Linked DNA regions of Homo sapiens: all the other regions are linked to region 1. The links are contacts of gene promoters, found by promoter capture Hi-C in human tissues and cell types (Jung and others, 2019). All regions are on one chromosome and are shown on one strand. The core of a region is centred on a gene start or on the middle of the fragment in contact, and the rest is flanking DNA. Distances in the headings are between cores, read along the strand shown. Region 1 holds the start of CACNA1B (calcium voltage-gated channel subunit alpha1 B). Region 2 overlaps CACNA1B (calcium voltage-gated channel subunit alpha1 B). Region 3 overlaps CACNA1B (calcium voltage-gated channel subunit alpha1 B).

The links. The method cuts DNA at HindIII sites, captures the fragments that hold promoters and counts their contacts. A contact is called where the count stands out against the background at its distance.
Region 2: a contact is called between a fragment that was not itself captured here and the fragment with the promoter of CACNA1B in region 1, in 3 of the 25 tissues and cell types used here (dorsolateral prefrontal cortex, lymphoblastoid cells and stomach).
Region 3: a contact is called between a fragment that was not itself captured here and the fragment with the promoter of CACNA1B in region 1, in 5 of the 25 tissues and cell types used here (dorsolateral prefrontal cortex, heart right ventricle, lymphoblastoid cells and 2 more).

The regions. Positions count from the first base shown.
Region 1 is chr9:137,875,098-137,880,002 of GRCh38, forward strand. CACNA1B (calcium voltage-gated channel subunit alpha1 B) reads left to right here and starts at 2,685. Exons shown (of 47, transcript NM_000718.4): 1 at 2,685-3,120; 2 at 3,957-4,062. The coding sequence starts at 2,837. CACNA1B-AS2 (CACNA1B antisense RNA 2) reads right to left here. Exons shown (of 4, transcript NR_121583.1): 3 at 366-583. RefSeq lists an enhancer at 2,878-3,793. The HindIII fragment of the contact is 23,600 bases long and covers 1-4,905 here.
Region 2 is chr9:137,930,724-137,935,628 of GRCh38, forward strand. All of the region lies in intron 6 of CACNA1B (calcium voltage-gated channel subunit alpha1 B), which reads left to right. Among named protein-coding and RNA genes, the nearest start is that of CACNA1B-AS1, 14 kb to the right of the region's middle. The HindIII fragment of the contact is 9,868 bases long and covers 1-4,905 here.
Region 3 is chr9:137,910,466-137,915,370 of GRCh38, forward strand. It overlaps CACNA1B (calcium voltage-gated channel subunit alpha1 B), which reads left to right. Exons shown (of 47, transcript NM_000718.4): 4 at 2,715-2,806; 5 at 4,189-4,341. Among named protein-coding and RNA genes, the nearest start is that of CACNA1B-AS2, 20 kb to the left of the region's middle. The HindIII fragment of the contact is 6,756 bases long and covers 1-4,905 here.

The DNA of each region.
Region 1 (4,905 bases), core at 1,435-3,934:
TAGACACTTCCTCACTGACCGAGCTGTCTATACCTGCTGTAGGGACTTCCTCACTGAACGAGCTGTCTACACCTGCTGTAGGCACTTCCTCACTGAATGAGCTGTCTATACCTGCTGTAGGGACTTCCTCACTGAACGAGCTGTCTACACCCGCTGTAGGGACTTCCTCACAACTCATTCTCTTCAATCCGCCCCACTCGGGCTGCTCCTCTGTGGAAACTGCTGTCCGGGTGATGGGCACCTCTGTCTTTCCACTCTGATGGCTGAATGTCGGTCCTCATCTCTATGGACTACACGCACTCCTCCCTCAGCTCCGGGACAGGGCACTCCCCCGACCCCCCACAGCCCTGGCTGCTCCTCCTCACCGGCTTCATTCTTGGGGAGTGGCAGCATCCTCTGTCTCTGACTTCGGTCGCTTCCTCGGTGGTGATGCATCAGGCAGGATGACACTTGCAAGGGACCATCTACCACAATCTGTGCGATCTGTGCAAGGCGCAGGGAAGTCCCAAGGGCCAGGATTCACCATGCCTGCGTGATGCCATCCCCCGCTGGCAGGAACAAGGGGAGGACGCAGGAACTGGAACTGGAGAGAGAGAAAGGAGAGTGGTGGGTGCCTGACAGGGCCGGAGCTTCAATTGAGGTGCACAGCCAACCCTCGGTGACCTGGCAGGAGGAAGTCAGGGGAATAGTAGACACCTTGGCCTTGCTCTTTCCTTCCCTCAAGGGCCTTTGGTGCTCCTGTTGGGCTAGCATAACCAGAAACCACAGGTCAAGGAACAGGCTGATGTGGCTTTCAAAGGCCAGCTCCAGCGTCACGCAGCACGGAGGGAAGGGCAGAGCAGATGTGGCGAGCCCAGCCTCCAGGCGCAGGGCTGCAGCAGTGGCCTCTCGTCTTGGCATCCCTCGAGAAACTCCACCCCTGCATAGCATCTCCACTTCTGTCCCCAGTAGGCAATTCTTAATTTCCACCCTGTGACTAACAAGCTCTTCCCTCTGTCTTCCCCATCTCGGCAAAGGGCATCCCCCTCGACTCAGTCACTCAGACCAAAAATGAAGAGCCTGTGTTTCTATCTCTCCTTCACATTTACACTGGACGCACTCTCTCTAAGAGAAAGAGGCACTGCTCATGGCCCCCATGTTCAAACCACATCATCTCTCTCTGTGCTGCTGTCAAAACCCCTCCCTGGGCTCTGATTTTTCTCTGTGACAGGCCAGTTGGCAGCCTCCCCGACAGCCTTAGCACCTGCTTCCCAGCTAAGCGAACCCTGATTTTGTTTGGGGCAACTATGTGCTCGCCTAGTGGGGGCTGGCCATCCTGGTCCACTTTGACACATGTTCACTTTCCCACCCTGTTAAAGTCAGGGCCGGCCACATGGCCCATGGCCTAACGGGGTTAAAGAGACACTTGCAGGGGGAGCCTCTGAGAAGCTTTTCCTTTGTTAGAAAAGAAAATCGTAACCTGATTCACAAAGTGGTCATCCTTTGTACACCTGCCACTTCCTTCCCGTTTGAGATGCTGGTGTAGCGGTGTGATGCCCTGTGCTATGACAGCCACCCTGGGGCATGAGGCAACAGGCAGGAAGGCAGAAAGTGTATGTGGGGATTTTGGAGGGAGGAGAGATGGTGGCTTCGTATTCAGTGAGATCACAATGGCATCGTGCAAGCTGCTGCTAGCTGGGAAGCGGGTTGTTCGCCTCTGAATGCATCCTAAGTGATTCAGCACCCCAGCCTCCTGCAGTCCACACTCCACACGGCAGCCCGAGGGACCCTTCAGAGGCCTACGCGCCTCTGCTCGGAACTGTGCGGACTGCCTCCCTCTCAGAAGGCGCAGCCCGCACCCGGCCTCACTCTGCACTCAGCGCCTTGCGAGCGAGCTTCAGGTCCGAGAGGGTCCCTTGTTCCCGAAGGTCTCCCCGACCCCGGGGCCGCCTTTTTGGAGGTTGTGAGGACCCACGGGCCTGCACGAAGTGAGCGCTGTGTAAATGGTTGCTGTGCTTTGTACAAAACGGTCAGCTCCGTGAGGGCAGAGCTGGGAGCCCAGGACAGGCCCGGCCCGCGGTGGGCGCTCAAGGAGGCCTGGGGAATGGCAGTGACCGTGACAGGTTCCCTAACGGGGCGTGGCCTGCAAGGCGGTCAGAGGCTTCTCTGAGCTGAGATCCCGGAGCCAGCCCCGTGCGTGGAAACAGCAGGTCCCGCACCCGGGCTGGGGGCCCCCGACAGAAGCGTCCGCGTGGCACCAAGGCCGCGAGCCGAGCGCACCCGGAGGGTTGGGAAGGCCGGGGACCCGGCGGGGACGGGGCGGGCCGGCCCAGGCCTGGCGCCCAGCTCTGGGCTGCAGCCCCAGGGCTGGTGGCGCCTCCGGGCGGAGCGAGGGGTCCGTCTGGGCCGAGTTTGAGGAGCCGAGGGCACCCAGGGGCGGTGCGGCCGGCAGAGTGGGCTCCGGGGACGGCCCGGGCTGGCGCTGAGCGGCCGTCGAGGACCCACAGGCTCGTCCGCTCCTGGGCCCGGCCCAGCCCCGGGGTGGGAGGCGCGGGGCGAGGGAGGCGCAGCCGGAGGGGCCGGGGCGGGGCGGGGGCGGCCGCGGGGCGGGGCCGGCGCGGCAGGGTGGGCGGGGCCGGCGCGGATTGGCCGGGCCCCGCCACGTGACCGGCCCCTTATAGGGCGTGGCGCGGGGCCGCGGAGTCGGGTGAGGCGGCGGCGGCTGCGGCGGTGGGGCCGGGCGAGGTCCGCTGCGGTCCCGGCGGCTCCGTGGCTGCTCCGCTCTGAGCGCCTGGCGCGCCCCGCGCCCTCCCTGCCGGGGCCGCTGGGCCGGGGATGCACGCGGGGCCCGGGAGCCATGGTCCGCTTCGGGGACGAGCTGGGCGGCCGCTATGGGGGCCCCGGCGGCGGAGAGCGGGCCCGGGGCGGCGGGGCCGGCGGGGCGGGGGGCCCGGGTCCCGGGGGGCTGCAGCCCGGCCAGCGGGTCCTCTACAAGCAATCGATCGCGCAGCGCGCGCGGACCATGGCGCTGTACAACCCCATCCCGGTCAAGCAGAACTGCTTCACCGTCAACCGCTCGCTCTTCGTCTTCAGCGAGGACAACGTCGTCCGCAAATACGCGAAGCGCATCACCGAGTGGCCATATCCTGCCGGGCGGGGCCGGGCGGGGCCGGGCGGGGACCGGGGTGGGGGCCGGGGCCGGGGCCATCTTCCCGGTGGCCGGGAGGGCGCGACCTGGGGAGGCGTCGGGAGACGGGCGAGGGGGGTACGGAGCGCCCCAGGGCCCCTCGGAGCGGCGGGTGCGGGAGCATTTCCGTGAGTGCGGCGGGCGCGGGGCGGAGCCCCTCTGCTCCGGACTCGTCCCTCCGCACGCCGGGTCCTGGGGATCCTGGTCGGTGCACAGTGCGCGGCTAGCCTGGAGGGCACCGAGGGCGAAGCCGCGTCCGTGCAGGTGCGAGCGCTGTGGGGACGCGGCCGTGCGCGCGCCTGGCTGCAGGTGCCTGCGTGTGCGGGCTGAGCTGGAGCCTGGCGCTGCGCGTGCGTGCGCTCGCGATGCGGGCTACATGCATGTTCACGTGCCTGTGTAGGTACATGTGGCTGCGTGTCTGGAGGGAGCAGCGTGCGCCTGCGCGGGGTCTCCCTCCAGCCTCGCCTGGGGGCGCTCGGCCCCCTCCCCTCGGGGCCCTGGAGTCGGGCGGAGCCGGGCCGGAGGCGCTGTCCGCGGTGCTGACGGCCGCCCGGGTGTGCCGAGGGGCTGGCGGCCCAGACTGCGGAGGCCCCGCCTCGCGGCCGCCCCTAGGGATGGGGGCAGGGAGTGAGGGAGACCAGGCCGCTTCCGCCAGGAGAGGGGCTCCGGACCCAGTTGTCTCAGCCCCTCCGGAGACGGCCTAGCGGTGGCTGCTGCACTGGGCTCTGCTGGCGTCGGCCTCGTGTTTCCCTCCGTGCGGCGTCTGCCGGCCAGTCCTTAACTCACGCACTCCATTCGAGTATATGATCCTGGCCACCATCATCGCCAACTGCATCGTGCTGGCCCTGGAGCAGCACCTCCCTGATGGGGACAAAACGCCCATGTCCGAGCGGCTGGTGAGTGCCCGGCTGGGCCTGAGGGCAGGGTGGTGGGGAGGCCGCGACTCCACTTTCCTTTATGGTCTGTGCCTGAGAACAGCTTCCTCGGGCAGGGTCGTCTGGGCAGTGCCCCTCGCGTCTGAAGGAAAAGGTAGGCCTGGCAGATAACACCTTCCTCGAGGGCCAGGGCAGCTGGGGTCACCGGCTTAGCCCTGGGCGTGGCCACGTTAGCCCTGGGCCAGTCTGCCCTGTGCCACGAGCTACTCCTGCACCTCAATGGCTGTCCTGGCTTTCGGCGCTAGACTTTGATCCAGAAAACCATGTTCTAAACTTGGGGTGGGGAAGGGGCATTCATGTCTTCGGGAAGGTCAGCTCTGAATGCCATGTGTGCCCTGCTGGGCTGAGATGGGCTTTGGCCTGGATGTGGGAACCCTGAGCCTCATCCTCCAAGTTGTCTTGTGCGGGCCTGCTTGGAACCTCTTCTCCAGTGGGCCTCACCATCCTGTGGGAAGCATTCCTTCTCAAACATTCTGAATCATTTTTACCTGTCCCCAGATTCCAGCCAAGAGGCCCCCGTGGTAGCCCCCATTGGAGCATAGAGTCTGTGTGAGTCAGGGTGCCAGGGCAAGGTCTCCGTGGCTCAACAGGAGGCAAGGTGGAAGGCCAGCCCTGTGGGGTCTCTGGAGGGGCTGGGTCAGAGGAAGGGCAGCATTTTGGAGGTGAGCAGTTTCTGAGGTCAGAGCATGTCCCCCAGCCCCCACTCTTCCCTGATGCCTGGCCCCATGTCTGGGTTCCGAGTGTGCCTAAAGACTGGAGCCTCCAGGTGAGCAGAAGGCAGAGCAAGTGGGGGCCCAGGGGGTG
Region 2 (4,905 bases), core at 751-3,250, 55 kb after region 1:
TTTCAGTTCTGTCAGTTTCTGTATCACTTATTTTGCAGCTCTGTTGTTGAGTATACACATATTTAGACTTGCTATTTTTTTTTGATGGATTGACCTTTTTATCATTATATACATGTTTCCCTGTGTCTCGGGTAATTTTGTTTTACTGGGAGGTTTGCTTTATCTGATATTAATCTAGCCACTCCAATTTAAAAAAATTAATCTTTGTATAAATCTTTTTTTATATTTTTACATTTTTTTGGAGACAGTCTCACTGTCACCCAGGATGGAGTTTAGTGGTGTGATGGTGTGCAATCTCAGCTCATTGCAGCCTCACCCTTCCACACTGAAGGAATCTTCTACATTAGATGGTATTATCTGGGGAGGGTCTTGACTACGAGTTGTCCAGGTTCTTGGCGGTTTGAACAAAGAATTGCACAAGATGCACAAAGCAACAAAGGAATGAAGAAATGAAGAAATGAAAGCACAGATTTATTGAAACAAAAGTACATTCCATAGTGTGGGATCGGGCTCGCGTAAACGGCTCAAGAGCCCTGGTTACAGAATTTTCTGGAGTTTAAATACTCTCTAGAGGTTTCCCATTGGTTAGCTGCTTACACCCTGTGTAAATGAAGACCAGGCCCTCTACCATTCTGATTGGTCATGGGAGGCGACCAATCAGGTACTTTCCATTTTTCGTCTGCGATACAGTGGAATGGGGGGCGTTGCAAAGGGAGTAGCCTCTTCTTTTGTTACTTGGATGTGGAGAGGTGGAGTTTTCCTTTTGATTTAGTTCTAGGAAGTCAGCACAAATCGGCCTTAGGTTCCTTGCCTCCAGACCCTATTCTCCTGCCTCATTTCCCCCGAGATGTGATCCCCATCATCTTTATAGGAGGCCGAGGGACTGATGGTTTTTTCTTCAGTAACTGCTTCATGCTGATTTGGGCACAGTTCCTACCTATTGGGGATCATGGAACTCTCACCCTGCTCTGTCTAGTGGAGACATGGTAGTTGCTGGATGGCCAGGGGTGGTGTCTTTACCTGGAACTGGCTGGAAACCTTGTCTCATGATCATCTGAAGCTTGATGGTCTCTGGGCGAGAGGAAATGAATTTGTTTAAGAGATTTAATGAACATGGTCCAAAAACCAAGGCAAATATAGTCATTAGTGATGGGCCGGCTAGAGGAAGGAGCCATGCACCTCAACTTAGCATTTCTGACCAGGAGCCCCATGACTCAGACAGCTGTTGTCGTATCTTAGGGGCCCAGTCAGCTAATTTCCAGGCGGCATCCCTTACTAATCCTGATTAGTTGACATAAAAACAGCATTTTTCCTCTAGAAAAAGACATAAGCCACCTTTTTAAGCAGTTAGGAGATCCAGTCCCCTTCAATTCTGTAAAGTGACTGCTGCCAAGGAGTCTGTCTGATTTTGTATGGCGACGATACTTTGGGCAGTGTCTTCTGAGCTTTCCATAAAATCTCTGGACAAGTTAGTGATAGGATAGGGAGATTGCAAGCCTGCTAACTCCCGTTTCTACTCTTGCTGTTCTTCCTAACCCAACCAAAAGGGGTGTGAGTTGGATGGCTCATTTGTGTCTGGTGGTTGCAGTTAAAGGTATAGTGAAGAATTGGTTGTTGGGAGCTACATTAATTTTGGGAGCTAAATAACAAGTTACAGGTTCCAGTCCAGTTGGCTGGTAAATCTAAGTAGGAACTGGTCCCGCACGGGAAAAAGGCTCCTTGTTTTTCAAGACAGAACTTGTTTTCTATGGTGAACACATGGGCTAGCTTGTTGTTTTCACTTTCCCATATGGTTGAGGTCTTTGCTAAGGTGGCCCTGGTTAAAGGCTGGAAAGGATCTTGGGAAGTATCTTGAGTTGCCCCAGCAGTTCTCTTTTCCCAGTGGAGGTAGTTAGGCTTAGTGTCCAGTAACAATCACCCAGAGGTATTTTCATACTGGGGAACCAAAAGGCAACTAGACGTCTCAGGATTAGTACATTCTTCACAAGGGAAACCGTGAATGCAGCTAGTGGGCCTGCCTCGACCATACTTAGGCTGTCCATCCTTTAAAGCCCTTAACCAGGGATGGTTTCCATGAAAACCGTACAGGTTATCTAAATGATGCGGTTTGGGTAACTGTATAGCTTACGTAATCGAGTGAAGGATTAACTTCCAGGGTGTAGTTGCATTGATGACTTTATTTTATCTTTACTTTTATTTATTTATTTATTTATTTATTATATTTTTTGAGATGGAGTCTCTCTCTGTCGCCTAGGCTGGAGTGCAATGGTGCGATCTCAGCTCACTGCAACCTCCACCTCCCAGGTTCGAGCGATTCTTCTGCCTCAGCCTCCTGAGTAGCTGGGACTACAGGCGCGTGCCACCACGCCCGGCTAGTTTTTTGTATTTTTAGTAGAAATGGGGTTTCACTGTGTTAGCCAGAATGGTCTCAAATCTTCTGACCTCATGATCTGCCTGCCTCGGCCTCCCAGAGTGCTGGGATTACAGGTGTGAGTTTTTTGTATTTTTAGTAGAAATGGGGTTTCACTGTGTTAGCCAGAGTGGTCTCAAATCTCCTGACCTCATGATCTGCCCGCCTTGGCCTCCCAAAGTGCTGAGATTACAGGTGTGAGTCACCGCGTCCGGCACATTGATGACTTTTCAAGGTTCCAAGGACCGGACCAGAATTTTCGCTTCTGTTAATACAAAGTGGCACCTGCAATTTTAGCTCTGTGTACATTTATATTGGGCCCCAAATTGGTTTCTGAGGGGATGCAACTCCAGAAAGGTTGCTCAGATGGGATTGGAGTAGGTTTACTGCTTATCCTGTCATTGTAACCCTTGTCATTTCCATGATTTTGAATTCATGTATGTCATCCAGGCTCATTAGTTTGAAGAGAGTTCCTCCTTTGTAGTTAGGGTGATAGGTCATTTCCTTAAGGGCCCAAGATTGGGCTGGGATCAGGATGGCAGTATATTTAGATGATGATGGAGATAAACAAAACCAACAGTCCTTTGCCAGGGCTGGGCTGGTGGTATTTAAGTCTTTGTGTTAAATTTAAAGTTCTTAATAAATACCCAGAATCCACTAATTGCTGGAGGGGTAAAGGGAAGCTCTGTTGTGAAATAAAGCTGATTGCTAGTAAGACATGGTTCCTGTATACACAGGCTGTGGGTGACCATTATGGAACAAAAAAAAAATTACTTATTTGTTATTTTGTCCTATAGAATGGGAACTTCAGGGGGTGGATACCTATGCTGTCAGGAATGCTTGTTATAAAAATGAATTGAAACACTTTGGTTAATTATTACAAAGGAAGTGATTCCATCCATTTTGAATAAAACAAATTGTAAAAATATAAAAAATAGCTACCAATATCCAGCTTACGATAAGTATGCAACAAAGACACCAAGGAAAGTTGGTAGGCATTTACTTATTTTTCGGCTGTCTTTTAAACAGGTACTTCACTGTTCCCACAGGTTCACAGGTGTAGTGGCTGATAGGAGCTTCAGGTTCCAGGTCCAGGGCTTCAGTTATTGCAGGCTTGACCCTGGAAAGATGGATCCAACTACCTAATCCTAGTACTTTGACCACAGAAGGCTTGTCCAGCACCACTGAAAATGGTCCCTTCCATTTGGGTTGCAATAGTTGAGCAGGTGATCCCTCTTTCCATGTTTTAACAAGTACCTGATTTCTCATTTTGGAGATCATGGCAGACGGGAGGCAGGACTAGATTGCAGTTCCCACTCGGATGGCCAGAGCAGCCTGTGGAGGATTGTATCGTGAACTTTTGCTCCAGAATGACTGCAGAAATAAATCAGGAAAGCCGAGAGAACCCATAGACCCTCTGAAGGAAGCGGATTGCTCCAGCAGGACCTGGGAGATACCCAAAATACTGTGCTGGTATCCACAGCTGAGAGACCCACAGACAGTTCATATCACAGGACTCTGTGCAGACAACCCCTAGTACCAGCCCAGAACCCGGTAGACTTGCTGGATGGCTAGATCCAGAAGAGAGACAACAATCACTATAGCTCAGCTCTCAGGAAGCCACAGCTCTAGGAAAATGGGGAGAGTACTACCTACATCAAGGGACCACCCCATGGGACAAAAGAATCTGAACAACAGCCTTGAGCCCTAGACCTTCCCTCTGACAGAGCCTACCAAAATGAGAAGGAACCAGAAAACCAACTCTGACAATATGACAAAACAAGGTTCCTTAACACCCCGAAGAAATCACACTAGCTCACTAGCAATGGGTCCAAACCAAGAAGAAATCCCGGATTTACCTGAAAAAGAATTCAGAAGATTAGTTATTAAGCTAATCAGAAGGCACCAGAGAAAGGCAAAGCCCAATTTAAGGAAGTCAAAAAATGATACGAGAAATGAGGGGATAAATTTTCTTTTTTTTCATTATACTTTAAGTTCTAGGGTACATGTGCACAACGTGCAGATTTGTTGCATATGTATACCTGTGGCATGTTGGTTTGCTGCACTCGTTAACTCATCATTTACATTACATATTTCTCCTAATGCTATGCCTCCCCCATACCCCCCACCCCATGACAGGCTCCGGCGTGTGATGTTCCCTGCCCTGTGTCCAAGTGTTCTCATTGTTCAATTCCCACCTGTGAGTGAGAACATGCGGTGTTTGGTTTTCTGTCCTTGCGATAGTTTGCTCAGAATGATGGTTTCCAGCTTCATCCATGTCCCTACAAAGGACATGAAATCATCCTTTTTTATGGCTGCATAGTATTCCATGGTGTATATGTGCCACATTTTTCTAATCCAGTCTATCATTGATGGACATTTGGGTTAGTTCTTAGTCTTTGCTATTGTGAATAGTGCCACAATAAACATATGTGTGCATGTGTCTTTATAGTAGCATGATTTATAATCCTTTGGGTATATACCCAGTAATGGGA
Region 3 (4,905 bases), core at 951-3,450, 35 kb after region 1:
GTGCGTTATTACATTTATTGTGCACTTTGTTTCTATTATTGTTACATTGTGATATATAATGAAATAATTATACAACTCACCATAATATAGAGTCAGTGGGAGCCCTGAGATTGTTGTCCTGCAACTAGACGGTCCCATCTGGGGGTGATGGGTCAGTGACAGATCATCAGGCATAAGATTCTCATAAGGAGCGTGCAACCTAGATCCCTCACATGTGCAGTTCACAGTAGGATTCATGCTCCTATGAGAATCTAATACCACCGCCGATCTGACAGGAGGCGGAGCTCAGGCAGTAATGCTCGTTCGCCTGCCGCCACCTCCTGCAGAGTGGCCTGATTCCTAACAGGCCACAGAACAGTACTGGTCTGTGGCCTGAGGGTTGGGGACCCTTGCTCTGATGCACGGAACTTTTTACTTTTGATGAAGTTCAATCTAATCTATTTTTTCTTTTATTGCCTGTGCTCTTGGTGTCATATCCGAGAAATTATTGCCAAATCCAATGTTATGAATATTTTCCCCTATGTTTCTTCTAAGAGTTTTCTAGTCTTAGCTCTTATATTTAGATCTTTGATCCATTTTGAGTTACTTTCTGTATTTGGTGTAAGGTAAGGGTCCAACTTTATTCTGCTTGGTTGTTGAAAAGATCATTCTTTCTCCACTTAATGGTCTTGGTACCTTTGTTGAAAACCAGTTGACATATATGTGGGGGTTTATTTCTGGGTTATTATTCTATTCCGTTGATCTAGCTAGTTTTAAATTTTCTACCTTTTCTACCTGTTTTTGTTTAATAGTTTACTGTTTTTATCTGAACAAAATTCCTCTTTCAATAGTTGATCCTGCTGAATGTCTTCCCGTAGCATTGGGCTTCCTCAGGTAACCTGGCATTTTGGTTTGAATAGAAGGGTTTTTATTGTCCTTTTTTTCTTTTTTTATTTTGAGATATTTATCTTTTCTTTATTTATTTATTCGAGTCGGAGTCTCGCTCTGTAGCCCAGACTGGAGTGCAATGGCGCAATCTCGGCTCACTGCAACCTCTGCCTCCTGGGCTCAAGCAGTTCTCCTGCCTCAGCCTCCCGAGTAGCTGGAATTACAGGCATGCGCTACTGCGCCCAGCTAGTTTTTGTATTTTTTTTTGTAGAGACGGGGTTTCACCATGTTGGTCAGGCTGGTCTCGAACTCCTGACCTCAGGGGATCCACCTGCCTTGGCCTCCCAAAGTACTGGGATTACAGGCGTGAACCACTGTGCCCGGCCGATATTTATCCTATTTTTGACCCCCAGTTCTGTCTCAGATTTTGTCTGTTACGGCTATGTGTTTGGAGCGGGTGATCACAAAGCCTTCGCCAAGAACCCTGGATGCGCGTTAGAGGCAGAGCCAGCAGGATTGTTGGTGACCCGGACGTGGCATATGAGAGAAGGACCGGAGTCAGGGATGAAGTTTCAGGTTTGGTTTAAACAATAGGTGACTGGTGCGATCCGCTGAGGGGAACAAAGGGGGAAGGAGCAGGACTGGAAGTAAGAATAGAAAGTTTCTTAGTCACTGTGATGTAACAACTCTGAACTTTAGAAAAAAGGTACATCTTTTATACTTGTGTTAAAGTGAAAAAAATAATTCTTTAGTTGTGTAATGTTTCATATGCTTTTTAAAATACCCATATGGAACTGTTAAAAAGGCAGTTGTATATATGAGCCTAGAGCTCCAGGTCTGGATTAAAGATACACACTTGGGAATAACGGACATGCGTGATACTCAAAGCTATTGGGTAGCTCCTACATGGAATGAGCCTTGGGGCACCCTCGTTTTGAATCTCTGGCAGAGAAGGCAAAGCTGGCAAAAGAAACTAAGAAGGAGCCCCCAGGGAGTGGGAGGAAAACAGGAGAGAGTTGGCCTAAGGCAAGAGACCACACCCTTTAAAGGAGACTTGACCGTTAGAATTGGCAAGAGGAAGGCTTGAGGTAGCATTTCAGTGGAGAGGTGGGTGAGAACCTGGCTGGAGAAAGCTAATGAGAGAGCTCAAGATAAGGAAGTGGTGAGACCGAGGATTGACACCATCCGTGAGTTCTGATGGGAAGGGAACAGAGAAATGCTCTGTGGTAGAAGGCAGATATGGGATCTTTAGTTTTGTTCTTAAGATGGGAGATACTGGGATATGTTTTTTTGCTAATAGAACTGACCACAGTGTCTTCCTCATTCCACCTTTCCAATACCCCACTTCCCTGTCTTCCTGAGATAAGGGAAAGAATGGTGGTATATGGGGGTCGGTTCAGGAGTCCCTCAGGCTCCATCCTGCTCCTGCTCTCAGTCTCCACTCCTCTCAGAAGGCAGCTTGAAGTGCAGCTGGGGTTGGTTAGGGGATATGGGTCAGCCTTAAACTCAATTGGTAGACAGATTTCCTGCCATGCCAGGGGCCAAGTGTCTATTCAGAGATGGTGCCTTTGAACTGGAGGTTTGGTCATGTGGGTGATTGTGAACATTCCTGTGAGCGCTTCTGGATTCAGTTCCTGCCTCCTCTCACCTGGCAAGCCGCTCTGTGCTGGCCCTGTGGTTGGACAGTGGGGGGACACAGGTGCTGGCCCTGTGGTTGGACAGTGGGGACACAGGAATGAAGGTGTCACTGCTCTTGGGAGACATGACCCTGGTGGTGGGAGGAGTGTGTCCTCTTCCAGGCTCAATGTGGAAACCTTTACTTCCCTTCTTCTCCTTGTTTCTGCCAGGATCCTTGCCACGGCTGGAACTGACTTCGACCTGCGAACACTGAGGGCTGTGCGTGTGCTGAGGCCCCTGAAGCTGGTGTCTGGGATTCCAAGTGAGTCCAGCGAAGACAGGCCCAAGCCGGCTTGGAGTAACAACCTCCTCTCCTACCCTCACCACGGACATGGCCATGGCCATGGTTTGGCTTTGGTGACTCTGAGCTTGCCACTTTTGACCCCAGGGAACCAGGCAGGAGGAAGGGAGGAGCAGGCCTTTTTTGGCCTGTCACACCCTCCATGAAAGCCCACAGGGTGATGCTGTTATTTTACCCTGACCTGGCTTCCCTAGATGGAAGCTTTGTTCCTCCTCACATACTCTGTCACATTTCAGCATTTTGCTTCTTTTTCTGAGGGTAAAGAATGGATGAGAGGTTGACCAAGGTGGTGGGGAAGGATGCCTGAGAAAATGTGCAAAAGCTGCAAAGGGCCACTTGTCTCTTGGCTCAGTCTTGTCAGGGCCACTGGGGACTGAGGCCAGCCTTAAGACATGCTCCTGAAGTGGGCTGCCCACAGAGCCTGCCATGAGCAGGAGGATGGCCAGGGTGACCTCATGAGCCAGTGACCACCTGGACCCCTATTCCTTCAGCCCAGTGGAAGTCTGGTTTTAGGTTTACCTAAGGGCCTGAGTGGACATGGAACTAGAGCTGTGTCCTCCTGAGGCCACTGAGGGAAGACCCGTGATTGGCTCCCTGTTCTACCCTGAGACCTTGCCAGGCAATGGTTCTGGCCCATATCCAAGTGCTGGGGCCAGACTCGAAGGGGAGGGGTCAAGGTTTACAGGCTCCTCTGCCCAGTTCCTCACATGCTGTATGGCCAGTGGCAGAACATTCCCAGGGGCAGGTCTTTTTTGCCTCACTTTCTCCCAAGGAGTTGGGTCTGTTAGGAATACCTGTACTTCTCCCCCAGGATCCCCTGCTCTTCCCTCCCAGGGTCCCCTCCTCTTAGCTCCCAGCATTCTCTGCTCCTTCCTCCCAGGATCCCCTGCCCTTAGCTCCCAGCATTCTCTGCTCTTCCCTCCTAGAATTCCCTGTTCTTTCCTCTCAGGATGTCCTCTGACTTGGCTCTTCCTTCTCAGGATTTCATTCTCTTTCCTCTCAGGATTCTCTGTTGCCCCACCCTGAGCCCCACTCCCCACCCCAGACTTCATACCCTGACACCCCCACATCCCACTCCTCTGCCTACTTTGAGACACTTCTCAGTCGACTTCTCTCTAGGACCTTATGCTTTGTCCCTAGGACTCTCAGCTCTGCCCTACACAAGCACTCTCTGCCCCTCTGCGCCTTAAGGGGCTTCAGCTCTATCCTTTGCCCTTGCAAGCACTCACTGCTTAGCACCTTGCTGTCCCTGCTAGGTTCCTGCTGTTCTGTCCCTGCCCCCACCAAATTCCTTGCCCTACCCTGCCCACGTTGCTTCCTGACCTGCCCTGTTCTGGCCCCAGGTTTGCAGGTGGTGCTCAAGTCCATCATGAAGGCCATGGTTCCACTCCTGCAGATTGGGCTGCTTCTCTTCTTTGCCATCCTCATGTTTGCCATCATTGGCCTGGAGTTCTACATGGGCAAGTTCCACAAGGCCTGTTTCCCCAACAGCACAGGTGAGGCCAGGCAGCACCCTCCAGCACAGGCAAGTGCCACGGATGCGTTCATCCAGGAGATGGGCACTGTTCTAGGTGCTAGAGGGGCCTTCTTGGTGCCAGATACATGAGGTGGAGCTGACATTCTAGTGGGGGACATAGACGATAGCCTGATAAACACAAGTAAATAAACACAGAAATATAATAATTATCGATTGTAGTAACTTTTGGGAAGAAAACAAAAAGGTATTTGAAATAGAATAATTTGGGGCCTGCTTTACAGAGGGGCCCAGGAGGCCAACTCTGCCAAGGTGACCGTCGAGCAGCATCTGAATGCAGGGAGATTGGAGCCGTGTGGCCACCTGGGCAGAACTTCAGTTACCAGTAGTAGTAGTAGTAGGTGCAAAGGCCTATGGTGCGGAGCAGCGAGAACAAGAGGAATCATGTGGGCTTCATGGCCCTGTCTTATTCTGAGAGAAACGGGAAGACAGTGGAGCGCTTTGAGTGAGGTGTGGCATCTTCTGATCATTCGGGCTGCTCCTGGGAGTTGAGTAGAAGATCTCAATCCAGCAGAGGTGATGGTGG